2 separate regions of the Homo sapiens genome follow, and region 1 is linked to region 2. Evidence: promoter capture Hi-C in human tissues and cell types (Jung and others, 2019). All regions are on one chromosome and are shown on one strand. The core of a region is centred on a gene start or on the middle of the fragment in contact, and the rest is flanking DNA. Distances in the headings are between cores, read along the strand shown. Region 1 holds the start of CBX6 (chromobox 6). Region 2 holds the start of PICK1 (protein interacting with PRKCA 1).

Evidence for each region. The method cuts DNA at HindIII sites, captures the fragments that hold promoters and counts their contacts. A contact is called where the count stands out against the background at its distance.
Region 1: the fragment with the promoter of CBX6 here is called in contact with the fragment with the promoter of PICK1 in region 2 in 2 of the 25 tissues and cell types used here (hippocampus and lymphoblastoid cells).

The regions. Positions count from the first base shown.
Region 1 is chr22:38,870,958-38,876,777 of GRCh38, forward strand. CBX6 (chromobox 6) reads right to left here and starts at 1,259. Exons shown (of 5, transcript NM_014292.5): 1 at 1,165-1,259; 2 at 945-988; 3 at 735-800; 4 at 523-589. The coding sequence starts at 1,233. RefSeq lists silencers at 881-930, 1,031-1,180, 1,211-1,470 and enhancers at 1,465-2,015, 2,016-2,565, 2,402-3,601, 3,418-3,597. The HindIII fragment of the contact is 23,948 bases long and covers 1-4,313 here.
Region 2 is chr22:38,053,823-38,059,404 of GRCh38, forward strand. PICK1 (protein interacting with PRKCA 1) reads left to right here and starts at 3,582. Exons shown (of 13, transcript NM_012407.4): 1 at 3,582-3,765; 2 at 3,931-4,028; 3 at 5,412-5,523. The coding sequence starts at 3,988. RefSeq lists enhancers at 3,034-3,659, 3,356-3,415, 3,660-4,283. The HindIII fragment of the contact is 14,484 bases long and covers 1-5,131 here.

The DNA of each region.
Region 1 (5,820 bases), core at 9-2,508, 810 kb after region 2:
ATGATTTGAGGTCAAATTCAAGTTGGATCCCCAAGAAAGGAGGGGAGCCATGAAGAACAAATCCTGAAAGACTGAACGGGGGAAGCTGGGGGCAGGGAGGCAGGTGGTCCCCCAAATCCTCTCCTTGTGCCCTGCCAGGAGGTGGGACCCCACTCACTCTCCCCCTGGGTTCCAACTCCCAGCACAGTCATAACAGCTCAAACAAATGCCCCCTTCCCATGGGCATCCCCCACCTGCCTCAGCCACCCCCTTTCCTGGAGCCCTAAAGGCATCCCCAGCCCCTGGTTTCAACAGGGAGGATTATCCCCAGTCCCAAAACCCTCTTGTTGAAGCTGATGCTGGCTGAGGCCTGCCATCAGGGGCTTCTGGGGGGGCTCACAACCACCCCCTGCCCAGCTGGGGCCCCTCTGAAAAGGCCGGCCCGCTTGGGCGGCCGCGTATCTGTCCCTCCCTTCCAGGCCCCGTGCTGTGCCGGGGCTGGGGGCCCGAGAGGGGGATGCTGCTGGGGCTGGGCCAGGTTACCTTCAGGAGGAAAGTTTTGGGTTTGGGTCCCCTCTTCTTGGGCCCATACAGCTCACGCTCCCTCTCCCTGCGGCCGAAAAACACCAGAGGTTAAAAAGAGCCCCTTCCCGGGCCCCACTCCGCGCTGCCCTCCCCGGCTCTCCCGCTTCCCCGCGCGGCGCCCCAGCCGAGCCTCGGCCTCGCAGCCCCTGCCAGCTTCCCCAACAACTCACTTTTGTTCGAAGGCTGCAATGAGCCGCGAGTCCAGGATGTTCTCCTCGGGCTCCCAAGTGCTGTACCTGCCGAGTCACAAACGCACAAAATCAGGATGAAGACCAGAGAGGGACAGGCACGCGGCGAGAGCAAGAGCGCGCACCCCCACCCCAGGCCCCGGTGCCCGCTGCCTCCCCTCCCGCGACGCCCCCGGACCCCGCGACACTCACTTGATCGCCCACCCCTTCCATTTCACCAGGTACTCGATGCGTCCCTGAAAAACAGAGGGGAGAAAAACGGGGGTGGGGGTGGGGAGGATGCGGGGACGCGAGGAGGCGGCGGCGCGGGGCTGGGCGAGGGAGCCGGGCTAGCGGGACCGCTTCGCCCCGAGGGCCCCCGGCCCCGGCCCCGGCTGCGGACAGCGGCGGCCCGCCCCGGGCGGCGGCTCACCTTTCGGATCCGCCGTTTGATGATGGATTCGGCCGCGAAGACCCGCTCGCCCACTGCAGACAGCTCCATCTTGCTCAGCGGCACCCACAGCCCATAATACTCCCTGCGCCCGCGGCCGGTGCGGCACCGCTCGCGCACGCGCCGCAGCGCCCAGGCCCCGGCGGGCGGGAGCGCGGCGGGGCGCGCGCTCGCGTTCCAGCTGCGGGCCGTCACGTGATCCTCGCGGCTGGCGCGCGGTTGCCAGGACCTCCCCCTCCCCCGGGGCGGTTGCTAGGGAAAGTCGGCGCTCGCGGGGCGGGGGCGCGCGCTGGCTCTTAAAGGGGCCGCGCGGGCGGAGGGAGCAATTGCCGGCCGACCCGATGGGTGCCCGGCTTGTGGGCACGCTGCGGCCTTACGCTTATCACCCCCCCTCACATCTTGCCGGCGCCCGATCGCTGACACCCTCTCCTTGCCTCTTAATCCCCACGCGAGTCTCGCCAGGCCCCGGGCGGAGAAGGGCTGTGGAGCCCGAGTCTCGCCGCCACCGCGCATCTCCCGCAGCAGCCTGCAAACAGTTAAATATGATGCAGCAGAAATGCAGTTGCTGTTGCCTTGCCAGGCCTTGCGGGAATTTCTTTAAAACATCGCCCCCCACCCATTATTTATGTATTCGTGGGAGGGTGGTTTTGTAACCAGTTCAGAAGAGTTAAAACAAAAACGCCACCGCAGGAAGGGGGTGTGCGGCGAATGGGGCCGAGGAAGGCCGGAGTGACCGTGGGCATCTGTCTGCGGCCGGGGTCTCGGGCGGCACCTGTCCTCGCCCAGGAGACCGGGGAGGATTCGGCGGGGCCGGTGTGGCAGTGGGGGAGGGAGAGGGACCGCGGGCAGGAACGGGCTCCCCGCACTCCGCCTTGGGCCCACAGCGGGTCATCATCTGGTCATTCGGCAGAAACCGCCTTCGCGGTCATATCTGTGTTTTCCGATTCCCAGCACCCCTCCCGGCCCCCCGACCTGGCCGCGTCCCTCTCCCCGCCCGCAGCTGCGCGAAGCTTCCGCCATTGCTCTGGGGAGCCCAGATCCCAGCTTCCCACTTGAGGAGGGGCGGGGGATCGAGCTGGGGCTGTCCAGGAACGGACACACAAAAAATAGCCCTGCCGCGCAAAACGCTCCACTTTTTAAATGTTGAAATTACTTGAACTTTATTTCCCATTATGTTAGTAGTCTTGTTCTTTGTAAAACAATTTTAAAAATACAGATAAAACAACTGTCCATAACCCCCATAAAACCATTGTTAACATCTTCACCAATCTTCCAGCCTCTGCTCTATGCGTACATAAACTCACGTACACCTATGTATGTATGTATATACATACACATACACATTGTCTGTAGATTTAATTTTTTAACAAAATGGGATCACGCTATTCACACTGTTCTGGAATCTGCTTTTCTCCCTTAATGCTATAAAGTGGACATCTTTCAGTGTCATTAAATACAGATTTCACCATCCTTCCAGTGACCACCTTGGGGCTGAGATGGGGTGGGGAGGAATGGGGATTGTGAAGAGTCAGGGTTGTGTCTTGCGAACATCAATGGCTCATTAGGAAAGATTTTTGCGTTTCTGTGCTACAATGCCAATTCTTGGGTTTCAAATCCACCATAGCAAAATGTTAGTCTTTTTCTCCCAGCAGATTTGTCCAATTATTACCTTGAGAGAAATCCCTCTCCTCACTTAAAATCAGTATGTTCCAGGGAAACAGCTATTTGCTGGCCAGCCCAAGGTGAGCTGCTGTGGTAAAAATAGAAATGTCCTCCTGGGAGATGTGGGTGGTGGTGGGTGAGCAGGTGAGAGGAGTGGGTATGACAGTGTGTGTGTGTTCAGGCTGACGGAGACAGGCGGGGGATGAAGCAGGTGAGTCCACTTGTTGATTCATTCAGCAGTGTTTGTGAGCCCTTGTGAAGCACCAGGCTTTGTGTGAAACCATCAGGAAACAAAGGTGCCCCAGGCTGAGGAGCTGTCAGTGGAGTGAGAACGGCACCTGTCACACAGTGTGACTAATGCTAGAATAAAGGTGTAGGAGTTTCGTGTTGCTGCTCTCACAAATTAACACAAGCTCAGTGGCTTAAAATGACTCACATTTGTTATCTGATGACTCTGGAGGCGGGAAGTCCCAAATCAGTGTTACTGGGCCCAAGTGAAGGTATCCTCAGGGCTGGTCCCTTTTTGGAGGGTCAAGGAGAGTATCTGTTCCGTGCCTCATCCAGCTTCCAAATGTTGCTGGCATTTCTTGGCTCATGGCTTCATCACTCAAATCTCTGTTTCCACGATCCCTTTGCTCACTTCCTGCTTCTTTCTTTCTTTTGTTTTTGTTTTTGAGATGGAGTCTTGCTCAGTCACCCAGGTGGGAGTGCAGTGGCACAATCTCGGCTCACTGCAACCTCTGCCTCCCGGTTTCAAACAATTCTCCCAGTCTCAGCCTCCCAAGTAGCTGGGATTACAGGCATGCGTCACCACACCCGGCTAATTTTTGTATTTAGTAGAGATGGGGGTTTCACCATGTTAGCCAGGCTGGTCTCGAACTCCTGACCTCAAGTAATCCACCCGCCTCAGCCTCCCAAAGTACTGGGATTACAGGCGTGAGCCACCGCACCTGGCTTCTGCCTCTTTCTTTTAACAACACTTGTGATTACATTGGGTCTGCCCAAATAATTGAGAATGATCTTTCCGTCTCAACCTCAACTTAATCAGATTTGCAAAGACCCTCTTACCATAGGGTAACATGGATGGTAAGTAAGGTATCCTATCCACAGGTTCTGGGGGCTAGGGGCTAGGACACGGACATCTTTCGGGGAGGCATTATAAGCCTGCCACAAGAGTCTGTACAGGATGTCTTGGGAGTGGACATAGGGGAGCAACCTACCACGTGGAGGTGAGGCTGTGAGGGCTTCTCAGAGGTGGAGACCTCTGATTTGGGGCCGGAAAGACAAATGGGAATTGGCCTACAAGTGAAGAATGGGAAGGGTGTCCCGGGTGGAGGTGTCAACTTGAACAAGCACATCAGAGCCTGAGAGTGTGTTTTGGGGATGGGAAAGAAGTCTGCTATGGCATGGGTTGGGGCAGTACGGCAAAGGATGGCAATGGAAAGATGGGTTGGACTGAACTTGGGAAGGGCCTTGAATGCTGGGTAGGTTTGGACTTTGTCTCAGGCAGTGGGAAGCGTGAGGGAGTTTTGAGTAGAGGAGGGATGTGATGAGATGAAGTGGGAATTCGGGCAGCCAGGCTTGGATCCCTTTTCTTTTGGTAATCGTGTGATGTTGTACAAGTCCTTTTCTACTCTCTGGATCTTAGTTTTTCAACTTCAAAAATGGGGGAGGAACTGGCCCTTTTTCATGCTCTATATTTTTTGGCAGGTGACTTTTTTTTTTTTTTTTTTTGAGGTGGAGTCTCCCTTTGTTGCCCAGGCTGGAGTGCAGTGGCGTGATCTTGGCTCACTACAACCTCCGCCTCCCAGGTTCAAGTGATTCTCCTGCCTTGGCCTCCTGAGTAGCTGGGACTATAGGCGCGCCACCTTGCCAGGCTAATTTTTGTATTTTTAGTAGAGACGGGGTTTCACTATGTTGGCCAGGCTGGTCTCAAACTCCTGACCTCGTGATCCGCCCGCCTTGGCCTCTCAAAGTGCTGGGATTACAGGCGTGAGCCACTGCGACAAGCTGCAGGTGACTCTTTTGAAAATCTGTTATTTCCAAGTCATTCCAAAATTTTGGAGAGATTTATGGACTTCTCACATGCTTTTCCCTTGTTTATGAGCACCTGGAGAAGATAGTCTCTATTCTATGAGAAAAAAATCCCCTCCACCTCTGACAGTCTATAGTTCTGAGGTTTGGTGTAACATCACAAAGGAAAAAAATTGATCTCTTAGCCTGTGTGAGTTGTTGCCCAGACAGAGGGCAAATCAGTTTCCTATGAAATTGTGAACCAAAACTATCTGAGACAAGTCTCAATCAATGTAGAAAGTTTATTTTGCCAAGGTTAAGGACGTGCCCGTGACATAGCCTCAGGAGGTCCTGATGACTTGTACCCAAAGTGATAGGGGTATAGCTTGGTTTTATACATTTTAGGGAGATATGAGACATCAATCAGTACATTTAAGATGTACATTGGTTCAGTCTGGAAAGGTGGGGCAACTCGAAGTGGGGGCTTCCAGGTGGTAGGTAGATAAGAGACAAAAGGTTGTATTATTTTGATTCTGATCAGCCTTTCACTGAGTACACAATTTACATGTGAGGAGGGTAGAGGAAGAGTCACTTATGCCTCAGTCTGTCTCAGTGAATCTGCATTTTTACATAAGCAACAGGCGGAGGAAGCAATCAGATATGCATTTGTCTCGGGTGGGAAGAGGGATGACTTTGAGTTCTGTCCTTGTCCCGCATCTGTTAAGATAAACTATCAATTTACATTGCCAAGGTGAAATTCAACAGAACTGTTTTAGGGTAAAGATGCTGAGGCCCACATGGAAATTCCTTGGGGGCAAACTCTGAAGGAGATATGTAGTTTTTTAATCTTTGTAACTATCTTATTTGGGGAAAAAATGGGAGCCAAGTTTGCCTGATGCAGTCCCCAGCTTGACTTAGTGATTTTTTGGGTTCAAATTTCAACCCCAAAAAAGGCAACAACTG
Region 2 (5,582 bases), core at 2,332-4,831:
ACTGTCTTGGGAGGATCATCATCCTCACTCCACAGACACCAAGGCTCAGAGACAAAGGGTGACATGTCCAAGGTCCTCCAGCTAAAAGAGTGGAGCTGGGATTTGAGCTGGAGCCACCCTGGGCTAGGGGAGCTCCAATCTCTGTTACAGCTGTTGGGTTTGAAGGATGCTGTTTTTCCAAAACCAAAATTCAGGACCTAGACACGGCCTGGTGATTCCAGCCCTGTGGAGGAAACTCAGGCCACTGCCACTGTCCCTGTTGAGGCCCTCCTCATCTCTTCCCTGAGACACCCAACCCTCTTGACCCCCTCTGCTCATGCAAGTCCTCTCCTCCTGGATCCAGAGAAAGTTTCATCTCATACTAAAGCCGCAGCGATTTCTGCAAGCACCAGATTTGCAGCCAGGTATTGCGCTGGACATCGTGGCCAATTCAGAGAAGGGCAAAACAGAGCACCTGGCCCCGAACCAGGGGCTTCCTGTCCAGCTGGAAAAACAAGAAGTGCTTACTTGGGTGATAGAATAAGGTACTTGAACTTTCTTTTCCCTCAAATAGATTCCTGGTCCCAACCAGACCCCCTCAATTGACTGGGACATGTTCCTCTGCTGTGTGGGCTGATTCCAGTGACCCCCTCTGCTAAAAAAGCTAAGCAGGTTGTGACATTTTCACACCAACAGTATTACAAAGCAATCTGATTTCCTTTTTCTTGTCTGTCACAATGACACCTGTTGATGGATTCTAAGTATACTATGGAAGATGGGGGTGCCAGAGATTAGAAAGTAAGTTGAGAAAAAGGCCAGGTGCAGTGGCTCACAACTGTAATCCTAGCACTTTGGGAGGCTGAGGTGGGTGGATCATCTGAGGTCAGGAGTTCGAGACCAGCTTGATCAACATGGTGAAACCCCGTCTCTACTAAAAATACAAAAAATTAGCCGGGCATGGTGGTGGGCGCCTGTAATCCCAGCTACTCAGGAGGCTGGGGCAGGAGAATCGCCTGAACCCGGGAGGCAGAAGTTGCAGTGAGCTGAGATCGCACCACTTAACTCCAGCCTGGGCGACAAGAGGGAGACTCCATCTCAAAGAAAAAAAAAAAGAAAGAAAGAAAAGAAAAGAAAAGAAAAAAATTGCAAAAATTAGCCAGGCGTAGCTATGAGCTGTAAGCCCCAAATTTAAAGGGGATAAAAACCTTGCCAGACAAAATACAAGCATGTAATAAATTAATCACTGCAGAATTGGCTCAGGAAAACCATGAAGAGATTTCACAAGGCAAATACACAGCAAATTGCTGAACAAATGATTCAAATAGCAACTGCTCAGGAGCTCAGCTCAGAAAAGGGAGCAAGATATATGAGCTGAGATTGTCTGCTAAGGCTGCCGGGAAGAGGTGAATTAGAGCGGAGCCTGCAGGCAAGGGATGAACAAGGCAGAAAACAGGGGCATCTTCCCCAACCTGAGAAGAAGGGCCAGAGTGGGTAGGGGGTTTTGAGGTCAGAGTGACAGCTGTGCCATGCAAATTGTTTACAAAGCACTCACACCTGTTTCTCCTTTTAATCTTTTGTTTCTGAGATGGAGTCTGGCTCTGTCACCCAGGCTGGCATGCAATGGCGCGATCTCGGTTCACTGCAATCTCCGCCACCCGGGTCCAAGCGATTCTCCTGCCTCAGTCTCCTGAGTAGCTGGGATTACAGGTGCATACCACCATGCCTGGCTAATTTTTGCATTTTTAGTAGAGACGGGGTTTCACCATGTTGGCCAGGCTGGTCCAGATATATGATCTAGATCTTATACCAACTCCTGATCTCATGATCCACACTCCTCAGCCTCCCAAAGTGCTGGGATTACAGGCGTGAGCCACCGCGCCCAGCCTCTCCTTTTAATCTTGACTTTCACAAATACCTGGTGGCAGGTGTCATTTCCCCATTCTACACGTACCTGAGGCTCAGAGTGAGACAGCGACTCACCCAAGATCTCCCAGCTACAAAATGGCAGAGCCTGGGCCTGAGCTAGCATGGTCATGGGCTGGAAGAGCCACAATCCATGTTAAGGCACCTGGGTTTGGAGACTGCTGCCTTTTTTTTTTTTGAAACGGAGTCTCTCTCTGTCGCCCAGGCTGGAGTGCAATGGCCTGATCTCGGCTCACTACAACCTCCCTCTCCTATTTTCAAGCGATTCTCCTGCCTCAGGCTCCCAAATAGCTGGAATTACAGGTGTGCGCCACCGCACCTGGCCTTAGACTGCTGCTTTTTGAAACCAAAATTCTGGCCTGGAAACAGAGCTTGGTTTTCCCAGCCCCAGCCCTGCCGCTATGATACCAGAGGAAGAGGCTTCCCAGGGCCTCCGTTTCCTTGCCTGCACAATGTGGCTGGCAAGATTTGGTCTTCTCTCACAGGGTGGTGGTGAGCTTTCAAATCCTGTGAAAGTGATCTCACAGGAGAGCAGTGGACACGTGGGAAGGCTGTTATTGTCACGGCATTCTGCACATCTGTCCGGACTCAATTAGCCACCTAAGGAGAGAGTAGGGCGGGGCTTCCACCGGCCGTGGGATATGTGGATAATCATCCTTCTGTATCTTTCTTCCATGGCTCCTGGGGCAGCTGGGGAAGCAAGCTGGATGGGCCTGGCCCCATGCTGCCGGATGAGGTGGATGCCTGGCTGTGGCTCTGGGAGAGCCAACCTCCCCCAGGGAACCCACTTTACACAATAGCAGTGGCAGCAGAGGCTGGCGAGGAGACAAGATTCGGACTCTGGGGAGCACTGATAGCATTTCCCGAGCCTCAGGTACATGCGGACCGTGACCCTCCCTGGGACCCCAGGGGGGCTGCTCCTCAGGACTAAGGAAGGAGGAGGGGGTGTGAGAAACCTTTCACCATATACCATAGAAAGCATTTACCTCAATGGCCTTGGTTTACATATGGGGAAACTGAGGCACATAAAGGGAAGGGAGCATGTCCAGTCTGTCCTTAATAGCAAGACCCACTGAATACACCTCTCCTGGCTCTCTGTTTAGTGTTTGGACGTTCAAAGATCCCTAGACTAGGCGGCGGGAGTTTCAGGGCCACGATCCAGATCTTACACCAACTGTGTGTGGCCCCGCACAAAATCACTCCCCGCTCTTTGGCACTTAAGTTGGCGAAACTGGGATGGGCTGGGACCTCAAAGGGCCATTCTAGTAGGGGAGTCACAGGCCCAGGTGGTGAAGGGGTGAAAGGGCATGATGTCTTGGGGTTTATAGTCCACTGAGCCTCGCCGGAGGTAACCCCGGCTCAGGGATGCTTTCGTTGCCATGGCAACCGCCGGGCCGGCGCGGGCCCCTGAGTGCAGCTGAGGAAGCTGGGACAAACCCTGCCCTTCCCAAGATGGCGGCGGCGGCAGGGCAAAGGGCGGGGTTAGACGCTGTCAGCCTGTCCAGACCGTTCCTCTGTTTTCGCTTGTTCCTACTAACAGCGAGCTTCCGCCAATACTTGTTCTCGTTCTTGGTTCCGAGCGTCCCGGGAGCCGGGAAGGGAAGGATTGTCTGCAGGGATTGGAGCAAATATCCAGTGGGGGGAAAGCCGGGACTTCCGCGTCTTGCCGGAAGTGACGTGACAATCGCGGCCACCGCCAGGTGGAACGGCAGGTGGGTTCAGGTACCAGCCTGGCCGGGACCCGGCTGTGGGACCAACGCTTCCGGTGAGCGACAGAGGCAGCTCCCCAGGGCCTGGAGACCCGTGGGGCGGACTCTGGGATCTGAGCCTATCGCCCTGGCCTGGAGCCCCCCTTTGTACCTAGTAAGAATCACCTACCCAGCCCCCCACCCGGAGACTGTCCCATCCCACTCCAGAGGGAAGAGGAGGGCACTGCTGTCCCGTATGAGGTGGTGGAGGGAGGGGTGGCGTTGGCATTTAGGCACTTGGGTTCCTTAAATCCTATGCTCCTTTCTCTCCCGGATCCAGTTCCCCATTCCCCTACCGAGCTGGGCAGTTAGCCAGCCCACTCCAACTCTCGGAACCATGTTTGCAGACTTGGATTATGACATCGAAGAGGATAAACTGTGAGTATTTTATTCCCCCAAGTTCCAGCAGTATAGGAGCCCCAAGTTCCTCATTTCCCTGGACTTCCCAGTCCCACAGACCCTTGCTTCTCAGCGGTGGATCAGTTGTTGTACTGAAGCAGCAATGGACCCTGCTCTCCCAGGAGCTCACTATTTGTAGGGGGCTGTGGACAGTTAAAGGGATAATCACAGCTCAGTGCCATAAGGGCACTATTAGCATGACTTGGTGACAAGAAGAGCAAAGCAGATGGAGCAGTGCTTCTGCTGGGATGGTCAAGGAAAGCTTCATGGAGGACGTAGCAATTGAACCAGGTTTTGAAGGTTGAATAGGAATATTGTAGACACCCTTCCTTCCCAACATAGGTTGTTAGTAGGACAGATTTTCCCATTAGAATATATCCTCTTTCAGATCAAGGAGTGGGTGCAATGCCTTTCTCTATGCTCAGCACTTAGTAAGGGACTTGACGTCAGTAGGTTGTTAGCGAATGTTTTTTGAATGAATAAGTGAATCAGCGTGAGTACTTATCATAAAACACCAGTCAATGCTAATTTATAGTGGAAACCGAGAGGTAATCGAGCAGTTGAGAGGTGGGAGGTGGACAGTTTAATAGAGGAAGACTCCCTGGAGTAGGTGGCCATCATACTACATAGATGCCTGATAAGGTGACAAGGACAGAACCTGGCTCAAATCTCAGAGATCGAATAAATGAAAGGGAAGGGGGACCTATTTTTATGGAGTGCCTGCTATGGACTGGGTTGCTGTTAGTGCCCTCCATGCATGGTTAGAAGAACTCTGATAAGGGTGCTCATCCACATTTTATGGATGAGGAAATTGAGATGCACAGAGGCTGACTTACCCAAGTCCCATAGCTGGCCAGGCACGGTGGCTCACGCCTGTAATCCCAGCACTTTGGGAGGCTGAGGCAGGCGGATCAACTGAGGTCAGGAGTTCAAGACCAGCCTGGCCAACATGGTGAAACCCCGTCTCTACTAAAAATACAAAAAAATCAGCCAGGCGTGGTGGCAGGCACCTGTAGTCCCAGCTACTTGGGCGACTGAGGCAGGAGAATCACTTGAACCCGGGAGGCGGAGGTTGCAGTGAGCCGAGATTGCGCCATTGCACTCTAGCCTGGGCAACAAGAGTAAGACTCCATCTCAAAAAAAAACCAAGTTCCACAGCTGATAAATGGCAGAGCTGGGGTTTGATCCCACATCTGCTTAACTCCAAGAGCTGTGCATGTTCCAGCACAAAATGTTGTTTTGTCCAAGGGAGGGAGAGAAAAAGCTGGGCAGCCAGTGGAGCCCCTCAGGAGTTTTAGAGGGCCCACCCGCTCCAGTCATCCTTCTGCCAGGAGAGTCAGCCTAGCTTGCTTTCCTTTCTAGCGGAATCCCGACTGTGCCTGGGAAGGTGACCCTGCAGAAGGATGCTCAGAACCTGATCGGGATCAGCATTGGAGGAGGGGCCCAGTACTGTCCCTGCCTCTATATCGTCCAGGTATTGGGCGCTTTGGAGGGGGGCACAAGGTACATCCCTACTTGGGCATGACAAAGGCA